4 separate regions of the Homo sapiens genome follow, and all the other regions are linked to region 4. Evidence: promoter capture Hi-C in 16 types of primary human blood cells and fetal thymus (Javierre and others, 2016). All regions are on one chromosome and are shown on one strand. The core of a region is centred on a gene start or on the middle of the fragment in contact, and the rest is flanking DNA. Distances in the headings are between cores, read along the strand shown. Region 1 overlaps CEP89 (centrosomal protein 89). Region 2 has its middle 2.0 kb from the start of SLC7A9. Region 3 overlaps CEP89 (centrosomal protein 89). Region 4 holds the start of TDRD12 (tudor domain containing 12).

The links. The method cuts DNA at HindIII sites, captures the fragments that hold promoters and counts their contacts. A CHiCAGO score of 5 or more calls a contact.
Region 1: a contact is called between a fragment that was not itself captured here and the fragment with the promoter of TDRD12 in region 4, in 2 of 17 cell types (non-activated CD4 T cells and naive CD4 T cells). The highest score is 5.8, in non-activated CD4 T cells.
Region 2: a fragment that was not itself captured here is called in contact with the fragment with the promoter of TDRD12 in region 4 in 1 of 17 cell types (non-activated CD4 T cells); the score reaches 5.3 in non-activated CD4 T cells.
Region 3: a fragment that was not itself captured here is called in contact with the fragment with the promoter of TDRD12 in region 4 in 1 of 17 cell types (naive CD4 T cells); the score reaches 5.0 in naive CD4 T cells.

What each region holds. Positions count from the first base shown.
Region 1 is chr19:32,902,527-32,905,517 of GRCh38, reverse strand. The region is part of intron 14 of CEP89 (centrosomal protein 89); the gene reads left to right. Among named protein-coding and RNA genes, the nearest start is that of SLC7A9, 34 kb to the right of the region's middle. The HindIII fragment of the contact is 657 bases long and covers 1,021-1,677 here.
Region 2 is chr19:32,870,190-32,873,257 of GRCh38, reverse strand. No RefSeq gene overlaps it. Among named protein-coding and RNA genes, the nearest start is that of SLC7A9, 2.0 kb to the right of the region's middle. RefSeq lists enhancers at 2,141-2,663, 2,664-3,068. The HindIII fragment of the contact is 3,371 bases long and covers 28-3,068 here.
Region 3 is chr19:32,949,190-32,952,389 of GRCh38, reverse strand. The region is part of intron 4 of CEP89 (centrosomal protein 89); the gene reads left to right. Among named protein-coding and RNA genes, the nearest start is that of CEP89, 21 kb to the left of the region's middle. The HindIII fragment of the contact is 1,731 bases long and covers 498-2,228 here.
Region 4 is chr19:32,718,203-32,721,155 of GRCh38, reverse strand. It overlaps TDRD12 (tudor domain containing 12), which reads right to left and starts at 1,389. Exons shown (of 33, transcript NM_001366102.1): 1 at 1,060-1,389. The coding sequence starts at 1,083. The HindIII fragment of the contact is 20,000 bases long and covers 1-2,953 here.

The DNA of each region.
Region 1 (2,991 bases), core at 100-2,599, 180 kb before region 4:
TAAAAGAATTGAATTAAAAAAAAAAATCTTCCTTTGAAAACTCCAGGCCTGGATACCTTCACTAGAGAGCTCTACAAATATTCAAGGAAGAAATAATTTCAGTCTTACATAAACCTTTCTAGAAACAGAAAAAGAATTAATGCTCCTTAATCTAATGAGGTTAGTATAACCTTGATACCAAAACCCAACAGTGATCATATAAGAAAGGAAAATTACTTTTCATTTCACTTATGAATGTAGATGTAAAACTTCTATTAAATTCTAACATTCTAAAGTTCTATTAAAAAATACAGCTACAATAAAGATCACACCAAATAGGGAAATGTTGAAAGCTTTCCTATTGAGATTGGAAACAATACAAGGTTGCCCTCTGACACCATTTCTGACAACATTAACAGCACTGGCTACCAAGTGGTAACTGACACACGTGGCATGAAAAACTTAGAAGGTTTGGGAAAAGGGAAAACAATAGTGTCATTATTCATAAATGACATAATTCTATCTGTAGAAAACAAATCTACAAATCATTAAAAATAAGAGGTTTTAGCAAAATTGTTCAAAACAGAAAATTTATAAAAATTAATTGTATTTCTTTGTAGGAAAAAAATGTGTAGAAAATGGTATTTTGGGCCAGGCCTGGTGGCTTACACCTGTAATCCCAGCACTTTGGGAGGCTGAGGCAGGTGGATCATGAAGTCAAGAGATCGAGACCATCCTGGCTAACAGGGTGAAACCCCATCTCTACTAAAAATACAAAAATTCGCTGGGTGTGATGGCGCATGCCTGTAGTCCCAGCTACTTGGGAGGCTGAGGCAGGAGAACCGCTTGAACCTGGGAGGCGGAGGTTGCAGTGAGTGGAGGTGGCGCCACTGCATTCCAGCCTGGTGACAGAGTGAGACTCCATCTCAAAAAAAAAAAAAAGGAAGAAAGAAAATGATATTTTGAAAACTAAGGTAATGATAGGCTATCATCATGAGAAAAAATTTTTTTAATTAAAAGGAAGGAACCATCGACAAAGCTTCACAAATAGATGTGGAAAGATTTACAGTACTTCCGTTGGGAAAATTATGAAACTTTATTGATTACATGATTTCACTGGGTGAAGAATTCCAAGCTGACAGGTTTTTGGTAGTTTGTGGGTTTTTTTCCATTCAGTTTTAAAGATGCTGGCTGTTGATAGTCTTTTGGCTTGCGTCGTTTATGATGAAAATCTGCTGTCACGGTTATCTGTATTCTTCTGAAGATAACGTGTGTTTTCTCTGAGGCTTCTTTTAAGAATTTTTCATTGTCACTGTTTTTCAGCATTTTAATTGGGATATGCCTTAGCATGGTTTCTTTCTTTCTTTCAGACCCTTTTTTGCACAGGGTCTGGCTCTGTTGGACAGGCTGGAGTGCAGTGGTGCAATCACTGCTTGCTCCAGCCTTGACCTCCTGGGCTCAAGTGATCCTCCTGCCTCAGCCTCTCGAGTAGCTGGGACTACAGGCATGTGCCACTGCTCCCGGCTAATTTTTAAATCTTTTGTAGAGACAGAGTCTTGTTACGTTGCCCAGGCTGGTCTCAAACTCCTGGCCTTGAGGGAGCCTCCTGCCTTGGCCTTCCAAAGTGCTGGGATTACAGTGGGGGACCCCACACCCGGCCAGCATGGTTTCTTTACTCTACATGAAGTTCATTAAGCTTCTTGGGGCTATCAGTGTGTATTTTTCATCAAGTTTGGAAATCTTTTGGCTATTATTTCTTGAACGGTCTCTTCTGTTTTTCCCTCTCACCTCTCCTGGACTGCTTGATGTTGTCCTGTTGACTGTTCTGTTCACTTTTAGCCCACACTTGTTTCTCTCTGGGCTTCAATCAGACAGTGTCTATTACTATCTCTCTTCAACTTCACAAATCTATCCTTCTACAATCTAATCTGCTGTTAGTCCCATCCAATATATTGTTCACTTTGTGTAATGATTTTTCCCATCTCTGTAAGAAAGATCCATTTGAGTCTTTTTTGTATTCTCCGTCTCTGTCCCCAGCATGCTATTTTTCTCTTCTTTCTCAAATGTAGGAGCATGTTTTTCTAAAAACCTTTGTTTGCCAACGCCATCATCTCTCTCACTTCTGAATCTGTTCTGTTGATTTTTTCCCCTCCTGATCATGGATCATATTTTATTGCTTATTCTCATGCTTGATTGGGTGCTGGATGGTGTAGATTTTATGTTACAGGATGTTAGACATATTGCATTGCTTTAAATAGTGTTAGATTTCATTCTGGTGCACACTTAAGCCACTAGAGAATTGTTGGATTATTTATTTATTTGTTTACTTTCTTTTCTGTTTTCTTTTTTTTTTTCTTTTTGTAGAAACAGGGTCTTGTTATGTTGCCCAGGCTGGTTTTGAGGTCCTGGGCTCAAGGGATCCTCCCACCTCAGCCTCCCAAAGTGCTGGGATTACAGGTGTGAGCCACCGCATGTGGCTAAGCTGGATTCTTTCAAAGCTGATTTTTGTTAGGGTGGGCCCAAAGCAACCTCTAGTCTTAGGGCTAAGTTAGCCCCACTGCTAAGACAGTAACACTCTTCTAAGGATTCTATCCAATATCTCTTTTATTATAAGGCCTTTCCATTCTGACTGGTGGGGTATGAACTATTTCCTGTTCTTTGTGCATGTCAGAAATTGTTCTGCCTACTGTTTGTAGTGTTTCTTTCCTAGGCTTTACGCAGTTTCCTCTCACACACGGACAGATCAGTACCCAGCCAAAGACCCTTCAAGGTCTCTAGAGCCCTTTCTCGCTCCGTGAAACGCCCTCTGCCCTGCCCTGGAAATTCCAGCTGCCTTGACCTTCCTGCTCTTGGATCTCTGGCTCCTGGGCTCAGCAGGTGTCTGCCAGACAAGAAGGTGGAGGGAGCAGTTGCAGCACTCACCTTGTTTTCCCTTCCCTTTGGGATCACAGTCCTGCCTCGCCTGTTGTCCAAAGTCCGAAAACTGTTGTTTCTTCTGTTTTGCCTGGTTTT
Region 2 (3,068 bases), core at 464-2,963, 150 kb before region 4:
AACTTGAAGGCAGGTCTGGAACAAGCTTTCAGCGGTAAAGGAAGATTCAGCCTCTGCCTGAATGTTTGCCCAAGACCTTGCCTCTGTCACGAGGACAGTGAATTAGAGAACAAGGCACCCAGCTGGGCAGCCCAGAGGCTGTGCAGAAATGGACTGACACTATGGGATTAAAGACGTCTTTAAAACCATCACAGGAGGCCAGGTGCAATGGCTTACGCCTGTAATCTCAGCACTTTGAGAGGCTGAAATGGGAGGATCACTTGAGCCCAAGAGGTCAAGGCTGGAGTGAGCCATGATCACGCCATTGCACTCTAGCATGGGAGCAAGAGACCCTGTCTCAGACACAAACCATCACAGGAGAAGGAAATGTTGGGGCTCAGGACACACCACCCCCAAAATATGACTGTAGGAGACTAGATATATATCACCCCAAATTATACTTCTTTGGAATATTTTGAGCTGGTTATTCTGAGAAACTGCAGACACAACAGGTGTAGCTCTGAAAAGCTGCCCTTTGCAAAAGAAATGTATGTCATGAAGGAAATCTACATTAGTACAAGTATCTGTACCAGGAAGAGACAACTTTTATTACCTGAGAGACTTATATCTGCATAACAAGACGACCTTTATTCGCCATGCATTTCCTCCCCTCACCATCCCATTACTAGTCCCTACCTGCCCCAGAAGCCCCAAGCCCCTAATCCTTATATAGCTCAGGATGCTATATAGGGTTTAGTCATCTGGCCCTTCTTCAAGTCTCTTGTTTTGTGGGACTCAGTTGCATATACACATAATTAAAACAGTTTTCCTCCCATTAGTCTCAATTCGAAGCCCAACCAAAGAACCCAAAAGGGTGGAGAGAAGCATTTTACCCTCCCCAACTGAAATCAAATGTGCACCAAATATAAGATAAAATGTAGATGGTGTGAAGATCTTCACACTGCAAGCATTTTTGCAATCGGAAGGGAAAAAGCACGGGTTGAAAATGAAGGTCAAGAGTCTTTAGCAGAAACTTAAGAAATAGAGTGGTTGGGCGGGTGTGGTGGCTCACACCTGTAATCCCAGCACTTTGGGAGGCTGAAGCGGGTGGATTACTTGAGGTCAGGAGTTCAAGATCAGCCTGGCCAACATGATGAAACCCTGTCTCTACTAAAAATACAAAAATTAGCCGGGTATATTGTCACACATGTAGTACCAGCTACTCGGGAGGCTGAGGGAGGAGAATCGCTTGAACCTGGGAGGCGGAGGTTGCAGTGAGCTGAGATCATGACACTGCACTCCAGCCTGGGTGACACAGCAAGTCTCAAAAATAAATAAATAAAATGGTAAAAATGACAGTAGGATTTGCGCTTTGGGAGGCCGAGGCAGGTGGATCACTTGAGGTCAGGAGTTCAAGACCAACCTGGCCAACATGGTGAAACCCCATCTCTACTAAAAATACAAAAATTAGCCAGGCATGGTGGTGGATGCCTGTAATCCCAGCTACTCAGGAGGCTGAGACAGGAGAATCACTTGAACCCAGGAGGCAGAGGTTGCAGTGAGCTGAGATCGTGCCACTGCACTCCAGCCTGGGCGACAGAGTGAGGCTCCATCTAAAAAAAAAAAAATTGACAGCAGGGAGGTGAAACTTCAGTCACATGGCAGAAGCACTGGATACACAATGAACCAATGGTCTTCAAGAACTGAGGAAAATTTTGCTTTTTAAATGAAATCCGTATTATTTTCCATGAGGAAGAGCTTATGAGAATTACTTGAATACTTTCTGTGTATTCAAGGGAGGGAGAGGGTGGGACTGCGGTGAAAAACACAACTTTAAGAAACAGGCTTAAGAAATGCTCACCGTGGACCCAAAATGAACTGAAGTGGAGGTTTCTGACTTAACAAAGGACCCTCACATCCCGATGTTCCAGACTCGGCACTTGGAAGAGGCCCAGGAAGACCAGAGGGCTGGTCCCGGACATTCATGGAACATGCAAGTTCAGTGTGTTCCGTGAGGAGGCGCCTGTTGCTCGCCCTGCGTCGCAGGTTCAGACCCTGATCCTGGCAGTGCTGCCTGAGCCCATGTGGGTAGTGGGTGAGGTTGCAGGGCTGTCTGGCCCCAGCGGGGGACCACTGCCCCACCCTGATGTCCTCACGTGGTCTCCTGTCAGCCTGCCAGGAGCACTTTTGACCCAGGGGGTATTCTGTGGTGTTTTGCAAACATGGATGTGCCAGGTACTATGATGAGTGCTGCAACATTAGGAGGAGTGACCCCAGCAAGCCGGTGGGCAGGTTCTGTCTAGGGTGGCAGGACCTGCCACTAGCCTCTCTGCTCAGGGCTCTGGGCATGGCAGGCAGGTAAACAGGTGGGCCCTCCCAAGATGGGAGGTGACGAACTTCTAAATCAGGACCGTGCCTCTGGGACAACAAGGGTCCCTGTGCTCTGCAGACGGCTTTCAGAGAAACCTGTGCCTCTCTCAGGTCTGCTTGCCCCAAACTGCTCCCAAACTGACCCCCAGAGACTGGCCCAGCTCCTTCCATCCCTGACCTTTGCTTCCATCTGATATCTGGGATGCAGTTAAGTTTGGCCCAAGGCAAAGCTACCAGAGTTTTGGCTGAAGGTAACAGCTACGATGCTTCAGATGCAGTGCTTATGCTGTGCCAGGCTGTCTCATAAGGTCTCATAAGGTGCTTCCTTCCCTATCTGAAAGGGCTTCGTGCTGACCCCTGAGGCTGCCGCCTGAGCCTAGGTCCAATCGCAGTGCGGGAGAACCTCTGCTCCCTCCCAGAGAGATCCAGACCCTGGCAGCCCTGGATGCGGACCGGAGCTTCCTGGCCTTGTGTTGCCTGTCCCCCTCCGTTTCCCCGAAGGGGAAGGTTTTGTGTCCCTTGTGATGAGCCAGGACATGGCTACGTGAACAGCACCACAGCCAAACCTGATGGGCATTTGGCCGCAGCTGCAGGGAGGACACGAGGCCCTGCATTGCCTCAGGCCTGCTTGTGATTCCAAGTGGTGAAGCCCCATCACTGGTAAAGAGGAGTGGGACGGGCTCAGCCGCTCTCACCTGCTCAGCCAGAGGCAGGCCCTT
Region 3 (3,200 bases), core at 114-2,613, 230 kb before region 4:
CCCACCTCAGCCTCCCGAGTAGCTGGGGCTTTAGGCACGCGGCACCACAACTGGCTTTTTTTTTTTTTTTCTATAGGGCCAGGGTCTTGTTATGTTAGCCAGACTGGCCTTGAACTCCTGGGCTTAAGCAATCCTCTTGCTTCGGGCTCCCAAAGTGTTGGGATTACAGGCATAAGCCAACGCCCCTGGCCCTAAAATACATTTTAAATGGTCTTCAGGAGCTTATTTTGAGGGATCCTTATGTGGCTGTTTCATGAACTCACCATCATTTTCCCACATATACAGACTTTCACACATAGAATTAGGCTTCTCATAGCAAGCAGCTCTGGAATAGGCAGACACTGCCCAGAGCTCAATATGGACAACTGTGCTCCTGTCGAGCTCTGCAGGGCTCAGAATCAGTCCCACTGCTCCTCACCCGCACACTTGCCGGCTGGTTATTTTGTACCGATGTTACACATAGAGTCATATCTCTCCACTGTTCTAGAGGGAAAGCTTACTACAATATTTCCCTTGGAAGAAAGAGATACAGTGACCTACAGAGACTCTTTCCTTGCTAGAAGGACAGATATTTTGTTTTTTTAGGCAAGTCTGTTAGGGTGGCTTTAGGAGCCATGTGTAGTAGGAAAATTTTTAAATTTTAACATGTGAAAAGTAGAAAATAATAAATAATAAAATGTTACCATTAGGGTAGATGTTGCCTTGTCCCCTAACCCCACTCCCTCCTTGGAAACTCATCTTTTCTTGGATTTGGAGTGCATCCTGGAAGTTTGTGTTTTTATTCTTTTACTACAAGTTTAAGTAAACAACTGTAGTAGTGTGCGTGTGTGTGTGTGTGTGTGTGTGTGTGTGTGTATATATATATATATATATATATAATTTTTTGTTGTTGTTTATTTCTTTTGAGACAGAGTCTTGCTCTGTCGCCCAGGCTGGAATGTAGTGGTGCAATCTTGGTTCACTGCAACCTCCGCCTCCTGGGTTCAAGTGATTCTCCTGCCTCAGCCTCCCAAGTAGCTGGGACTACAGGTGCCCGCCACCATGCCCAGCAAATTTTTGTATTTTTAGTAGAGATTGGGTTTCATCATGTTGGCCAGGATGGTCTCGAACTCCTGACCTCAGGTGATCCTCCCAAAGTGTTGGGATTACTGGCGTGAGCCATTGCGCCCAGCCAAGCCTTTTAAAGTATGTTTATATAAAGTATCACAAATTCTTTATGAAGGTATGTTTTTAGTAGACTTATTTATTGATATATAAAATATGCACAAGAAGTGAGTAAATCATAAGTGCACATTTCGATACATTTTCAAAAAGTAGCCACCACTCAGATTAAAAAAAAATTACTTGTACCCTAGAAATCACCCTTCTTCTTAGTCACTACTTCCCACAGAGTTAACCATTGCCAAGATTAGCTTTAATCTTTAAAAATAACCTGAGATTAGCTTTGCCTGTTCTGAAAATTTACATGCATTTAATTAGACGATATGCATTATTTGGAGTTTGGGAGTCTTCAGTTATTGTGTATAGCAGGGGCGGGTTTGTTCTCATTGCTGTATATTTTACTGTACAACCGTGCCACTCAGTTATTCATTTTACTGATGACAGAGACTTAATTGGTTCCAGTTTGGGACTCTTAGGAATAGTGCTGCTGTGAACATTTGGCGATGTGTCCCTTGATGTACATATTTGTGTATTTCTGGTGGGTATATACTGAGGAATGGTATGTGTATGGTCATAGGGTATATGTACCATCAGCTTTAGTACCAGTAGATACTGCCAAACGATTGTCCATATTGAGCATCTTCTTAATGCTTTTTTTGTGGGGGTGAAGGGGGCAGAGTTTCACTCTTATTGCACAGGCTGGAGTGCAATGGCACGATTTCTGCTCACTGCAACCTCCGCCTCCTGGGTTCAAGCAATTCTCCTGCCTCAGCCTCCTGAGTAGCTGGGATTACAGGCATGTGCCACCACACCTGGCTAATTTTATATTTTTAGTAGAGACAAGGTTTCTCCATGTTGATCAGGCTGGTCTTGAACTCCCGACTTCAGGTGATCCGCCTGCCTTAGCCTCCCAAAGTGCTGGGATTATAGATGTGAGCCACCATACCTGGCCCCTAATGCTTTTTAAGTCATCTTACCTATTTCACATTTCCTTGAGAATAGTGAGTCACTTAATATATTTTTGACAGGTTGAACAAGGAAGTTTGTTCCTGGGAGATAAAAAAGCTTGAGGTCGGCCTTGCGTGGTGGCTCACACCTATAATCCCACCACTTTGGGAGGTGGAGGTGGGAGGATCATTTGAGGACAAGAGTTCAAGACTGGCCTGGACACCATAGTGAGATCCTGTCTGTATTAAAAAAAAAAAAAAGTACGGGGCCATTTACTTTTTCTTTCTTCAAATGATGAGTATCTTGGGAGACCTGTTTGCTTCTCTTGAGCCAGGTCATCTTGGAACCATGTCCACAGAGACAGGTGGACGTAGCAGCCTTAGCTCTTACTCTGAAATGCCCCTTCTCATGGGCGTCTTGCTAGTCCCTGCCACCACCTCCTTGTCAGCCCCAGGGACAGCCCTTCCATTGCCTGCAGTGCAGCCCAGCTAAGCCAAACTGATCACAAAAGCAAGATTTTACTGAAGAATCAGGAGAGCCAAAGGGCAGCCCACCCAGACAGCGCCAGTCACAGTTTACCATGTAACAACTGGTTCAGGTCGAGTGCAGTGGCTCATGCCTGTAATCACAGCCCTTTGGGAGGCCAAGGCAGGAGGATCACTTGAGGCCAGAAGTTCAAGACCAGCCTGGACAACATACTGAGACCCCATCTCTACAAAAAATTTAAAAATTAGCTGGGCTTGGTGTCATACGCTTGTAGTCCTAGCTACTGGGAGGCTGAGGTGGAGGATTGCTTGAGCCCAGGAGGTAAAGGCTGCTGCAAGCCATGATTGCGCCACTGCACTCCAGCCAGGGTGACAGAGTGAGACCATGTCTTAAAAAAAGAAAAAAAAAAAGACCTGCTTCACTGTTCTTTCTCTTCCTCTTAGGCAGCCTCTGTCCCTACCCCCAGGCTCCTGCCAATGGAAATATCTCCTCCTCATCAGCGGCAGGTCCCATTCCTGGCCCATGGGCCTCTCTAAAGGACAACTCTGTGTCCCTGCCATGTTGGGATGAAACAAAATTTCAGCAGCTCCTATATAGCTAACATG
Region 4 (2,953 bases), core at 140-2,639:
GACTAGAACAACGCCCACGCAGAGCCCACGCGGTGAGCGGATAGGGCAACAGAGACTGGGGGCATGAGGGAAGCCCGGACCCATGGGCTGGGGCTGCCCGGGCCACCCGACCCTGTCCAGGCGCCGAGCCTAAGGGCCCCGTGGAGTACGGAGAGCGGGGCCCTGGGGACGCCAGTGTCGCTTGGCCCGGGTGATCGAGCATTCGGAGGAGCAACCAATTCCGCGCTCCTCCAGGTGCATCCCGGAGCACGCCAGGGCCCGTGAAACCCGGGCTCATCCGGGTTCTACCCCAGCTCCCAGCCCGGGGTGCCCCCTGGTGGGGGCGCAGGGAGGGTTCAGGTGGGGGAGGGCGGGGTGGGGTTGGAGTGGAGGTGGGGTGGGCTGCGGCTGGGGTGCAGGTGGGAGTGGAGATGGGGTGGTGGTGGGGTGTGTGGGGCTGAGTGTGGGGGGATGAAATGTTGGGGTGGAGGTGTGAGTGGGGGCGGTGGGAATAAGGATGGGGTGGGGACAGGGGCGAGGGTGTGACTGTGGGGTGGGCAGCGATAAGGAAACGGGTGGGAGCTGGGGCTAGGGTAGGAGTTGGGGGTGTGTGGGGTTGGGAGTGGGATGGGTTGGGGTGGGAGTGGGGTGGGAGTGGGGGCGTGGTGTGGCGGCATGGGATATACGGGGTTGGGATGTGTGGGAGTGGGATGGAGTGTGCAGCAGTGAGATGGGGTGGGGGCATGTGTGAGTGTGGGGGTGGAGCTGGGTGGGAGTGGGTGTGGGAGGATGTGTGGGTTGGGGGAGGAGTGGGCGTGGGGAGTAGGTGTGGGCTGAGAGGGAGTGGACATGGGGGGGATGCGTGGGCTGGGAGGAGTGGGTGTGGAGGGATGTGGAGGCTGGGATGGGGGGAGGGGTGGGGGCTGTGTAGGGTTGGGGTCGGGGGTGGGAGGCTGTGCGGGGCTGCGGTGGGTGTAGGAAGCTGTGCGGAGCTGGGGTGGGGGTGGGAGGCTGTGCGCGGCTGGGGTGGGGGTGGGGGACTGCGTGGGTCTGGCGTGGGTCTGGCTTGGCGGCGCTCACCTTCAGCACCAGGAGCTGGAGCATCCTCCTGGCGCCCGAGGGCAGATGGGCCCCCTCGCCCTGGAAGTCCCCTACCGTCGCGGGTGAGGCTGGCTGCGTCCGCCCCGGCCAGGCCCCCGCCGCGAGTGCGTTCCTTCCCTCCACCTTTAGCGCCTGGGCCCCCCGCGGCAGGTGCCCCACACTCCTCGTCCCCAGGAGCCCTCGCGGACCCCGGGGTCGGCTCGAGGCAATGCGCTCCGTCCTGGCAGTAACCAGCCCCTCGCTGCGGGATCCCTGCCTGCCTGGCCTCGGGCCTCCCGCACCCACCGGATGCCCGCGCACGCTGAGCAGGCCTTGAGGCGTCGGAGACCACGTGGTCCACCCAACGGCCCAACAACGTAAGGCACAGCGCCACGCGGTGGCCAGGAGGACTGACGCGCGGAGGCCCTGGGAGGCCCGGCTAGGGGTCGCGTGATTCTCTCTTTTGCAGCCAGCAGGACTGCCCTGCAGGCCCCAGGGACACTCGCCTGTCCCCCGGAGGGACAGAGGGGCCGCGTGCGGCTGAGTCCGTTGGAAACCACCTTTGCAAAATTGTAACTGAGGAAATTGTGATGGTGAAAGAAATCAGACCTAATCAACTCCATCTTGCCTCTAACCTTTAAGCTGTCCTTGTTTATTCCTGGGCGGAAGCCCAACTAACCTTGGGAAGGAATTCAGTCCATGGTTTGACTCTGAAACAAAATTGATAAGAGCCTGTGAATCCTGAAAATGTGAGATAGGTCTCAGTTCATTTAGAAAGTTTATTTGGCCAGCAGAGCGAGGTGGCTCAGGCCTGTAATCCCAGCGCTTTGGGAGGCGAGGGGTGCGGATCACCTGATAAGGTTAGGAGTTGGAGACTAGCATCCTCGACATGGTGAAACCCCGTCTCTACTAAAAATAGAAAAATTAGCCTGGCATGGTGGGGAGCGCCTCTAATCCCAGCTACTTGGGAGGCTGAGACAGGAGAATCGCTTGAACCCGGGAGGCAGAGGTTTCAGTGAGCTGAGATCAGGCCACTGCACCCCAGCCTGGGCGACAGAGTGAGACTCTGTCTCAAAAAACAAAACAAAACAAAAAATTTTGCCAAGGTTGAGGACAGGCGCCCCTGACACAGGAAGTCCTAACGACATTTGCTAGACGTGGTCGAGGCACAGCTTGTGTTAAAGTTGGAGGGTGTCCAGGTTCTTGGTGTCTTGAAGAAAGAATTTGACAAAAGGCACACACAAAGCAAGGAAGGAATGAAGGGTTTTATTGAAAAAGTACACTCCACAGTGTGGGAGCAGGCCTGAACACAGGGACTCAAAGGCCCGGCAGAATTTCTGTGAATTTAAATACCTTCTGCTTGGGGTACGCCCGATGTAAATGAAGACGGTGAAGTAAAGTTACGAAGTCATTTACTCGGTGTATGCCCTATGGAGAGGGTATTTCCCCTTATAGCTGAAGCGTGAATCGGCCTTATGTTCCCTACCTCCAGACCCTATTTTCCTGCCTCACTTGGTCTTTTACATTTTAGGGAGGCATGAGACAACAATCCTTGAATCAGCTCAGTGGATCAGCTGACACCACCCACACCGATAATCTGCCTCAACCAGTTCTGCCAAACCAACCAGGAAGAGTAAATAGCAAGAAAAACTCCAACAACCTCTGATTCCATCTTCAACCTGGCCAATCAGCACTCCCCACTTCCCAAGCTCCTACCCGCCCAATTGTCTTTAAAAACTCTGTTCCTCAAATGCTCGGAGAGACTGATTTGAGTAATAATAAAACTCCAGTCTCCCACACAGCCGGCTCTGCGTGAATTACTCTTTCTCCATTGCAATTCCCTGTCTTGATAAATTGGCTCTGTCTAGGCAGCGGGCAAGGTGAACCCATTAGG